Linked DNA regions of Homo sapiens: region 1 is linked to region 2. Evidence: promoter capture Hi-C in 16 types of primary human blood cells and fetal thymus (Javierre and others, 2016). All regions are on one chromosome and are shown on one strand. Each heading gives the region's core, a stretch centred on a gene start or on the middle of the fragment in contact. The rest is flanking DNA. Distances are from core to core; before and after follow the strand shown. Region 1 overlaps POLR3B (RNA polymerase III subunit B). Region 2 holds the start of MTERF2 (mitochondrial transcription termination factor 2).

The links. Contacts are between HindIII fragments. The CHiCAGO score rates a contact against its expected background, and 5 or more counts as called.
Region 1: a fragment that was not itself captured here is called in contact with the fragment with the promoter of MTERF2 in region 2 in 1 of 17 cell types (M1 macrophages); the score reaches 6.0 in M1 macrophages.

What each region holds. Positions count from the first base shown.
Region 1 is chr12:106,485,751-106,491,522 of GRCh38, reverse strand. The region is part of intron 23 of POLR3B (RNA polymerase III subunit B); the gene reads right to left. Among named protein-coding and RNA genes, the nearest start is that of RFX4, 94 kb to the left of the region's middle. RefSeq lists an enhancer at 57-634. The HindIII fragment of the contact is 1,625 bases long and covers 2,336-3,960 here.
Region 2 is chr12:106,982,833-106,989,038 of GRCh38, reverse strand. MTERF2 (mitochondrial transcription termination factor 2) reads left to right here and starts at 1,893. Exons shown (of 3, transcript NM_001033050.3): 1 at 1,893-2,070; 2 at 3,814-3,924. The HindIII fragment of the contact is 15,581 bases long and covers 409-6,206 here.

The DNA of each region.
Region 1 (5,772 bases), core at 1,899-4,398, 500 kb after region 2:
AAATGATGCTGTGGTTTTTCTCCATCAGTCACAGTGCAAGAAGAGAGCTGTGTTTAGTAAGGGATGAACACTCAACCAGTGCCCAGTATTAGTGAGGTTTATAAATGTGGGGGAAATGCCGTCTGTAAAAAATTCATCACCCCTTGGACTCTTAGACCTATGTAGAGCAGGTGAATCGAGGAATTGGGTGACTTTAATTTGACTCAATGCTGTTCCACTGATATGTTACTTTGGGGGTGCGGGGGAAGCACCACTTTCTGGTGAGCCTTAGTTGTTTGCTCTTTGTAACGGGAATAATTAGCACCTATCTCATGAAGCAATTGTGTTAGAAGAACAGATGAGCTAATGTCTGAGAGGTACTTTAAGGTCCTTAGAGAAAGGCTGCATCTAAATACAAGGAATTATTATTATATAAGAAACCTAATTACTCTCAGCAGGAAGCAAACTAGCAAAGCAAAGGAGACCAACTTAATGAATAGAAGGAGCAGTTGCAGTTGCACTAACTTTGGCTGGAGAGGCAGAAAAGCAGCTCATTCCTTCCTGGGTTGTGCAGGTCATTTAACATCATCAAGACACTGTCTCCTGATAACTTTCACGAGGCCTGGGGTTGCAGATATCTATTGGGGAATAGTTTACTGCTGATGAATATGGTGGTAAATGGGGCCAAAGAAGCAGTAGGAATGCTTTCAAGTTTGACTGTTCCTATTAAGACATGGTTTGCTTTGAGTAAACTCATCTCAATGAGCCTTTATACATTCAGAAATGAAATCTCTAAATCAAAATGTTAAGGCTAACACAGGTGGTTATTCCGTTCTTCCCCTCCCCTTTTCCAGCTATCGAATTAACCTCCTTTTATTTTTCACACCACCACCTTAAATAATCCCCAGAGGGAGGGGAGTAGACAAAAACTGTTGAATCATATTGGCTTTGTTCTGTTGTTGAATCATTTCCAGATCTATCACATCACTTGCCATATACCGGTTGACATAATTTTAATTCGGCTCTTCCTTACATGTTAACAGATAAATAATGCATAAGAAAACTTGATTAGCTTTCTTATTAAAACATCACTCTAAATGAGAGGAGGCGCTAGAAGACAATACAGTTTTTACACGGCTTTCCCATGAGCAGTTGAATGGTTTGATGTGATAAATTTGCATAGTCTGAAGCGCACAAAGGGCTGATTAATTGAAACCCTTACAATGCTTTTGCAAGCAACTATTGTAAAACAATAACCATAGGAACTTTACAAAATACACACGGCTGAATGTGTCAAGAGCTTAATAAAATGTGTTGAGGCTACACTATTTGGAAACAGAATTGGAGATTTTTATTCTGGGCCATAAAACACTAAATACCCTAATTTCAAAGCTTTAGTTGGATATTTACTGAAAGGTCAGAGGGTTACTGGCGAGCTACTGAAGACCAAAATTTGTTCCTAAAAAAGTCAATTCCATAAAATCTTCTTCCAATAAGGTATCTGTGTGGACGAAGAAACCCTGATTTAATAACATTAAAGTAAGAGCTGCTGGAGTTTTGGTTTTGGACTGAAACTCTGATGGATCATTTGGCATCATACACCTTATGATGGGGCTCATACGGATAGCCCTACCAGCCTCCTTCTCCCCTCCCACTTAGAAACTTCCATTCAAGCAGGATCAAGCAAAGCAGACAGCCAAAGCTATCCAGACTGTTTAAAGCTGTGGACTTGCAGAGAGGATTTTAGACAGTCTCAAGTACTACACGAGTACAAGGTGTTATTATTATTACTTTAAATCAGGTTCTTTTCACTGTCTCAATTTTAGAAAGCATAATACAGAAAAAAGGACTAACAAATGAAGGTCTAGCAAAACCAAACCTTGTTTAACAGATAAACTTTCTCCTTGGCTTTTCTATCACACATGAATTACCATTTTCTTACTTCCCACAAGCCTCTTTATATCTACTGTAAAAAGATTCTTTAATGTGTTGGAAAGTCAGGGCAGGTTTTCTTTTCTTCTAAGAAACATTCAATCAAAATCTTAATAAATTAATTCTGCAGGTTATTGAATAACTTATTAGTGCAAAATGGAAGCAAGTGACCTTATAATGGAACTTTTCTTGTATAAGAGAGGGTCAATGATGAATCTTCCAAACGATTTTATCCATATACGCATAATCCTTATCAACCACAGATAGGCAGACTAAACCATTAAGTGAAAAAACTATATTTTGATAAGACTAGACTTCTATTGTAAAACAAAAGTTGACTTCACTCCATTTAAACTAGCTGTCTGGTCCTTAAGGATTTAGGGAGCGTATGCCATTATCTCAGATTTGCAGTTATTAAAAAGCTTCTATTTGCCAGGACAAACACTCTTGCTCAAATACAGTTTTTCCTCTCCTTAGGAGTACTGCTTGGTATTGCTGCCCGATGCTGTGATCCACAGGACCTTTGTTGGAGGTGCTAATCCTTTTTCACATGAGAGACTGAGAAATGTTCTTTCAGGGAAGTGATATATTGCTTTTTTTTTCTCTCCACATCAAAGGAGTCCGCTTTTTCCTCCTTCATTGTGAATGGCAGCAAAAGAAGAGGAAATCTGGAAATATAATAATTTGGTTTGCCTGAACACTGAAATGGAACTTGAGAATTCCTTGGGCTGTCAGATAATTTTTGTTAAAGATTTTTTTTAAAAGGAGTAGTTAATCTTCTAATAAATGCACTAATCATCAGAGAAAACAAGGCTCAAGATAAAAATATTTGCCCTTGATGAGTTCCCTCCATTAGAATTTATAACACAGTTGAAGAGGCTTACATGTGTTATTTTGATTTTAATAGAAAGTCTAATTCCAAACATAATTTCAATCAGCATATGTGAATGTCTCTTCCTATCTTTATCTATAAAAATGATTAGAATATACAGCAACACATAGAACATTCCACACCCATGTTCAGCTCTGTTTTCCCTTTGGAACATCATTATGCCTCAACCAGATAAGTCATGGCTTCACTCGAAAATACCTAGAAGTCTAGACCACTTGGGAAATGAGCTCAAGACTTCAGGGTTTACATATTTCTCCCCAAATGAATTTAAAACAAAACTAAACTTTCCTGCCTTCATAAATAAACAAAAGACAAATTCACAACTTTGATGTATAGAAGGTTATTACTAAATCATTTCACCTTGGCCAGCATTTTGCATACTACTAAAGGATGAACGGCTCTAGAGATTCTTAATCAAAGGTCCAGCTCTTTTGGGGGGATGCAGACTCACTGCACATTTACTGATAAGATATATAACTGACCTCACAATGCCCAAAGGAAGGTTGTACTTCATTAAGATTCTTTGAATGTCTCAGTAGAAGACTGTATTGAAATGTCCTCATCTAAAAAGTACACTGTGAGTGAATCCTGCCTGCTTCTGAGCCCACAGTAGTCTATGTTAATTGTGATGCCACCTTCTTTACAAAACATGGTTCCTCATTACTTGGTTCTCTGCTTAGTCCTCCTCCACTTTTGAGGTTACAGAAGGTGATGTTGCTTATTGGGTCTGTCACCTCTGTATCTGATAAAACATTTTCACTTCTCCAGTGGGCCTCCTCTGACCAACTGCATTCAATCTTTGCTTATCATGCAGCACTGATGTTGATTCCCAACTACTCAGTATTGACTCGCTTATTCCAGCTGACCCACGCATTCTGCCCCCTTCAGTCTTCTCCATGAGCTCTGTGATCACATGCAGCACATAACTACCACTGTTCCGCTTCCTCTTTATGTTTGTTTCATTTAGCTACTAATTATCCTACCACCTTTGAAGCGATCAGGCTTGAGCGGGACAGATGCACATGTTCTGTGAAACTAAATTTTCAAGTCTCCTTTAATTGTTAGGATATCTGAAGAGGCATTGGGCACCGAAATGTGATCTACACACAATTCATATACAGAAAGAATCCCTAACAACAGCTTTGTCGAAGTAAGCTTTTAAGAAAAGACAAAAATCAGACAATCTGCAGGGCCATGTTACTTTCTGAACACCCAGAACAATACATTTAATGCTCTAAATGGAGAGAGAAAAATAATATGCACAAAGGTATACTAAATCAAAAGAATTTTTAAATTTTCTCATAGATAATATGTATGTGTCAACTTGCAGGAGATACTACAAAAGAAAAAACAGGATTTCCAAACAATTCTACATCTCAGGATTAAAAACTAAGTTCAACTAACCACTGCTCTTATTCTGGCATGTATCTGGACCAAAACAGAAACAAACAAACAAACAAACCTCTGCAGGAATCGTGGTGTGACACATATACCCTGAAAACTCAACACTTTGAAATTTTTATCAGCTCATTTCATGACAACTACAAATAGCATAACTGATGTTGTGGACTACATTTTCTGTTTCACTCACATTTTACTTGCCAATATCCAACTCCTTTAGGCCTGATGCAGTCCCCCTTAGGGCCCACACTAAGCGCTGGGTTATTGTGTGGCTCCTTACAGACACCTGCCATCTGTGCCTGGCATGTGAAGGTTCCAAGTGCACTAACTGTAAACACTGTGGCCAAAACATTTTCTTCAAGTGCCCTCTTTTTGTGGCTTTTACTGTCACATCTAGCCAAATAAATTGGGAGAACTGTCAAAGTTGAGGGCTCAGAAATTTACTTCCTTTTACATCTGTTTGAAATCCTGATAGATTCTGAATTTTACACAAGGCCACTAAAGCCTGACCAGAGGACCCGTTAAAGAAGGGAGTGGGGATAGTGTTTTACAATAAGCTGATTTTAGAAGGAAAGGGACACCAGAAAATACAGCTTTATTTTAGGAGTACATCTTAATATGGGGCTTTGGCAGGCATTTGTGCGACATGCTGTATGAGGGTAGTATTTATTCTGGATTTGTGGCAGCTGTAAAGCTGCTTATCCAGGAAGAATGGGAATTTTGAGAAGATGCCCATCTTAAGGAGGAGACAGAAAATAATACTAAAAAACAGCAGGATTCATCCTCAGAAAAGGTAGTGTCTTTCCAACGAGAAATCTCTGGGAATATGGCAATCTCAGGAGCAGAGTAAGATACAAGAAGAGAAAAGAGCCACCTTTAACCAGATTTAACCAAATGAGCCATATGCTTGGAATCAAAATCCTGGATTCAAATGTGGGCTCTGCCAGCACCAAGCTGTAGGAGGCATGCTACTCACCTCCCCTGAACCTCAATCTCCTTACTCTTTTTTTTTTTTTTTTTTTTTTTTTTTTGAGACGGAGTCTCCCTCTGACCCCAGGCTGGAGTGCAGTGGCCCAATCTAGGCTCGCTGCAAGCTCCGCCTCCCAGGTTCACATCATTCTCCTGCCTCAGTCTCCCGAGTAGCTGGGACTACAGGCACCTGCCATCACGCCCAACTAATTTTTTGTATTTTTAGTAGAGATGGGGTTTCACCATGTTAGCCAGGACGGTCTCGATCTCTTGACCTCGTGATCTGCCCGCCTCGGCCTCCCAAAGTGCTGGGATTACAGGCGTGAGCCACCGCGCCTGGCCAATCTCCTTACTCTTTATAGTAGGAATAACAACACAAACTGGAACTGTACCAGTTAAAGGATGAAATATAGATAAAAGTGCTTATAAATGATCAATACACAAAAAGTAAAATACTATAAATGTGGAGATAAACAGCATGCAAATGATTCCTCAATTTTTTCTCTAGCCCAAATCTCTCCCTGGAGCTCTAGACTCTATAACCAATTGCCAGCCTATATCTTCACTTGGAGTCTAATCATCTCAACCTGAGGCCCAAA
Region 2 (6,206 bases), core at 644-3,143:
GAGAGAACCAGGGTTTTGAATGAACTGTACAAAGTCCTTATGTTTTTCATATTTGCTTAAAATAAATAAGTAAATTTGAGATATAAAAGTCTATCAGTATTTTTAATGCATCTCTTACATACTAGAAATTTCAGGATCTTCTCACAATTCAAATGTGTTTGTAATTTTCTTGTACATAATATGCATAATTGTAAGTTCTTTTCCCCTTTTCTTCATTCAAGGTTTTTTTTCTGATTATATGGTCCTAGAAATGCACTGTTTAAATATTTGGGCTGGAAAAAACTTTGAGTAGCATTTATTTAATACAGTTGGCATAGCTGATTTGTCAGTTTCAAGTTTTGATTACAATGCACGGGGTCATATGTATTGTAATTCCTTGCACAATTACGTGGAGCCCTAATACAAGCTTCCAGCACCCTGGTGCACATTTCTGCTCCCTCCCTCCTGACCAGTGATGGCAGCTTGCAGTTCTAAGTCCTGAGTTTACATTCCTTAACTTCCTTTTCTGTATCCTAATTTCCTTTTCCTAAGTGCAAATGACACACTTTGGTTAGTCTGGACCCCAAATCATTTTATTTCAGGAAAAAGTGTGCAATAAATCTATGCATAATAGAGTTTTTATATTCGGATAACTCAGGAGTTGCTGGACAAACACCCCCCAGCTGTACACATGAGTTGCTCAGATCATTCTAGAATATCCTAGAGATCAGAGGTGGGTGATCTTGAGGAGCCAGGATTCTTGCTGCTACTCAGTGGAGTTAAATGCACGTGTGAGCTCCTCTCAATATAGCCTGTTGAGCCTAAACTGCATAGTGAGACTAGACTCAAAGATTTAGTTAACATTTCCTGAGTTCCTACTGTGTGCCCAGCATTGTTGACAGAAAAAATAATCAGTAGCCTCAAGGAATTCACTCCACAGGGTGCGAGGGCAGTCTGTATGCCAGTGCCACCGACGGCAGAACTGTGCACAGTGTGCTACGAACACCTGACAGCAGACACCTCCAGCTGGGAAAACCAGTTTTCCTGACTCCAACTCCACACAAACAGAATCACCAGGCCCAGCTCAGGGCACCCTGTCCTCGATAACACTTAACTAGGTGTGATTAGTCACGTTATTAGTTGTTGATATCTCTGCCCTCCACTAGAATGTAAGCTCCATAAGGACAGGGAATGTGTTTTATTCCCCCTCTATTTTCTCATTGCTGTTTCAATATGCTTGGCACTTAGCAGGCCTGCCATAAATACTTGTTTTTTGGATGGATAAATGTGAAAATAAATGAGAGAGACATTCAGCCTGGCTTTAAGGAGAAATTAACGTGTTTAGTGTATGAGGTTGGGCATCACCGGTAATAATTAGAATGGAAACCACTTGGCAGTTTATCAGAAAAGGGGAGTATTTAGGTGAAGGTGGCAAGGAGGGAGAGAAAGGAGAATGGCTTTTAAAGACAGTCGCTAACTGCTGGGGTAGGGTGGGGGCGGGGAAGAGTTCAGATGTGTTTCAAAGAACTTTGGGGGTTTTTTAAACATTTCTTTTGTAAGTTGGTTCTTTACCTAACTGAATTATTTTGGGAACAGTGATTGGCTCTATCTTAAAGATATAGCGGTTTCTGTTACTTCTTTTTTTTCTTATATTTTCTAAGCGTCAAAGCTACTGGAACTCCGCTTCCTAAAATGCTGGGAAGGAAAGGGTGTGAAAATGCCAGATGCCCCCGCCAGCACAGGCTGGGCTGCCTGGAAAGCCGATTCCCACTCCGACTCGCCCTCGTGGTGCGGGGAGGGACGCGTAGTTGTGTCCCGCGCTCTGACTGGCTGCGTTGGGACGCGGGGGCGTGTCTTGGGGGGGCGGGGGTTGGCGGTCATCTCCCGAGCCCTGATTGGCCATGGGCGAAGGGACTGATGGCCTGGTTGGCGCTGCTGAGAACTGTCGGGAGCTTCTTGAGACCGAGGACCGAAATCCCGGCTCCAGGCCTCGGGGACTGCGGACTGTGGGGAGGCTGGCCGGAGAGAGAGGGAAGGACGGGGCCTGGCCCCCGGGACTCCCTGTGCCTTGCTTGGAGCTGACGCCGACGGGTGAGTCGCCCCCTTCCTCTGCTCCTGGGCGTGTTCCTCACCAGCGGCGCCGCAGCGGTCAGGGCCCGCAAAACCCCACGCCTCGCCAGACGCTCAGCTCAGCCTGCCGGGTTTCTCTGGAAAAGCGGAGGCCCCACAGTGAATGTGCGGCCTTTTGATCGGTCCTGGAGATCTTCCGTGGACCCTCGTTTTTCCTTGCTTATAAACGTTGGTCAATTTGAAACTGGCAGCAGGGCATATGTGTTACGAAAGAAGAACTTTATTGAAACCAGTGGTGGTGTAGAGAAGACCATACTAACCATAACTGTGTATTACAGAAGTGAATTTCACTCCCCAAAAATGCTTAAGAAACAAGCATCCTAGAACAGCCCACATTGTGATTTAACAAACATTTACCAAAAGCATTGCTATATGTGGGGGCACAGGGCTAAGAGCAGGCAGGACTCTGGAGCCAACCTGTGGGGTTTGAGTCCAAATTCTGCCGGTTTTTTGTTTTTTGTTTTTTTTTTTAGCTGAGTAACCTTGGGCAAGTTCCTTTACCTGCGTCTGTTTCCTCATTTTAAAATGAGTTGTTGTGATGATTTAATGATTTAGTATATGTGAAGAGTTTTCTGCATATTCTAAGTGATTTATGGTATTAACTCGTTTGATCTTTGCAGTCACCCAGGAGATAGTATCACCATTTTCCTGATGCCAAACTGAGGCTCAGAGAGGTGAAGTAACTTCTTCAAGTCACAACACAACTGTTGTCCAGGAATCAGGCAGTCTGGCTCTGCTAACCCAGTTTTACCCACTGCATTAATGTACCGCATCCACTTGTTCACTCAGTTTCACCTGACAAATACTAATTTTGTCTCTCTGTGGAACAAGTTCTTTGCTGGGTGCAGGGAATAAAGCAGAACACCGTTCAGTTCCTGCCTTCCCAACGCTTGTAAATCTAGTGCAGGTCATTCATGGCCGGGCTGCAGGGTGTCCATGAATCCTGCTAAAATCATTTGCGAAATGTTGTGAGCGTGGGTCTTTTCTTCTGGAAAGAGAGTCTGTGACTCTCAGGTTCTGAGTTGATCTGTGATCCAAACAGAGGTGTGAAGAAGTGTTGTTTTAGCAGATCTGTGCCTAGTATGCCTGATACACAGCTTGAACTTCAAACAAACAGCAACAAAATTCCTACTGGTTGGAAGAATGAAGAACTTGTAAGAGCATAATAAGTGCTGCAGTAGCGTCCGGAGCAGGGTGCTGTGGAAGAGCACACAGAAGGCCACCTGCCCAGGAATGCCTCCTAGAGGCAGTGAAGGCAGCTGGGTGAAGGATAGGGAAGCAGTTCATTGGAACACTGTGGTGACCAGTCTGTCCATGTAGTGTTGAGACAGAAACAACACGTGAACAGCTGCAGCTGTTGTACCACTTGTGCGCAAGTGTAAAAGTCCATGGTGCCATGAAATCATGTAATGGGGACAGGAGGCTTCATGTATTCGTGAAGGTTAGAAAAGTTTCCTTGAGAAAGTGACACTTAGGCCTAAAAGTTGGAGCATTTTGGGCATGGAATCTGGCCCACAGTCTTCAAAGACCACATGGTAGAAACCAGTAGAGCACCAGGGACTGACAGGAAGCAAATGCAGCTGGTGCAGGAGAGGGAAATGGGAATTAGGGTGGTGGCAGAGCCCAAAGAGGCCTTGTAGGCCATGGTAAGGCATTTCTATGTTTTATTTTACTTTGTCTTTATCCTAAAATGCCATTGGCAAGTTTATTGCAGGGAACTGACAAGATCACATTTTGAGAAGAAGTTGGAAAGAATCCCAAGTGGATGAACTGAATATCTGGATGAGGACAAGATCTGTGGGGAGAGACTGTAAGGTAAGAAGAAGAGAGGTCTAGAACCAAGCCTTGAAGGTGAGCTTGTATGGGAGACAGATAGAGGGTGGCGAGAAGTATAGAAAGGGAGAAGAATCAAAAAAAGTCGAGTGTCCAGGAAGTCAAATGAGAGAATATTTCAAGGAGAAAGTGGTCAACTCTGCTAAAAGCTGCAGAAGTCAAAAGAGATAAGGAAGGCTGGGTGTGGTGGCTCATGGCTTGTATTAGTCCTTTTTCATGCTGCTGATAAAGACATAGCCAAGACTGGGCAATTTACAAAAGCAAGAGGTTTAATGGACTTACAGTGCCACGTGGTTGGGGAGACCTCACAATCATGGCGGAAGGTGAAAGGCACATCTCACATCGTGGCAGACAAGAAAAGAGTGAGAGCCAAGCGAAAGGGGTTTCCCCTTATAAAACCATCAGATCTCATGAGACTTATTCACTGTCATGAGAACAGTATGGGGGAAACCACCCCTATGATTTAATTATCTCCCACTGGGTTCCTCCCACAACACAAGGGAATTATGGGAGCTACAATTCAAGATGAGATTTGGGTGGGGACACAGCCAAACCACATCACGCCTGTAATCGACACTTTGGGATGCCAAGGTGGGCAGATCGCTTGAGCTCAGGAGTTCAAGAGCAGCCTGGAAATGTGGTGAAACCCCTTCTCTACAAAAAAAAGAGATAAGAATGAAAACTACTCATTGGCTGTAACCACATGAAAGTTATCTTTATCGCAAGCTATATAAGTAGAAGAGGAAATGGAGAGAAAGAAGGATCTGCAAGAATTAGCTGAGGTGAAGAGAAAGATAGGGTTTGGGCAGGGAAAAGAAGAGCAGTGGAGAGAGAGAGGGTTTGGGCAAGGACAGGAAGAGCAGTGGAGTGATGGCTGGAGCATCAGAGGAGGATACACCTGAAGGAGCAAACACTTGAGAAAGGGCTTGAGAGTTCTCAGGCCAGAGAGGCTGAGCTCAGCACAGGAGCAGGAATGACCCTGGATAATGAAAGCTGTGACTGGATAATGAAAGCTGTGAAGGGGAGCTAGTGATAGGTTTATGTCTGCTGAGAGGAGCTGCTCTCCTTTCTTTGTACAGATAGGAGGCAAGGGCACTGGTTGTGAGTGAAGGTGGGTATGGAGGTAGGTGGGAGGCCAGAGGTCTGAGTTGAGAAGATTTGAGATAGTTGGTGGGAAGTGTGGAAGAGTGAGTCAACCAGAGCTGGTTTGAGGATGGTCTGGCAGGGGGAGCCAAGTATGCAGCAAAGACCAGAAATGAGCCTCTTGGCCCCTTTGGGGAATTGCAAAGTAGGGGGATGAGGATGGAGGCAAATTAGAGACAAAAGCTACATTTAACATATGATAAAGGAGGCATCATAAGTCATGGGGAAGGAAAGGATTGTTCAGAAAATGGTACTTGGAGAGAAGTAAACTATTGATAAAATCTATTTAGATTCTCAGCTCACACCCAGAAATTTCAAATGAACTTAAGGAGCTAAGTTTTAAAGTTCAAACAAAAATATGGGAGGAAATAATGGATGAATTTTTACTGATCATCTGGTACTTAAAAGCAGTAAGGATCATCAAGGAAAACTTCCCTGACCTTCCTTTGACCACGTGAAATTAACTGCTTTGTTCTAACAGATACTGTAATATGAACTTTGATAACATTATGCTAAATGAAATAAGCCAGACACGAAAGACAAATATTATATGACCCCACATATAAAAAGTACCTAGAATAGGCAAATTCATAGAGACAGAAAGTAAAATAGAGGTAACTGGTGTCTGGAGGGAAGAGGGTATGGAGAGTTATTGTTTAATGGGCACAGAGACAGAGTTGGTGTTTGGGATAGTGGTCATGGTGGTACAACATTGTGACTATACTTTAAGCCACTGAATGGTACACTTGAAAATGGTTTAAATGGTAAATTTTTTGTTATTTATATCTTACTACAATTAAAAAAGGGGCTACTTTGGTATGCTAAAATATACCATCAACAACTGAAAATGAGCTGAAGAAAATATTTTCAAAAATGAGATTATATTTCTTAATTCATAGAGTTTATACAAGTCAATTTTTAAAAAGCAGAACGATTGCAGTTTTACAAGTCAGGAATGGTTGATTCACAAAAGGAAATAAAGATGAACGAAATAGTTTAATTATGAAAACATCACCCTTATAAATAATAAAAAGAAGTTAAATTAGTGTTGTATCATTTTTTACATATCAAAATAAAAACTGATGAGAGAATCACTCATACTGCCTGTGAGAATGTCAACT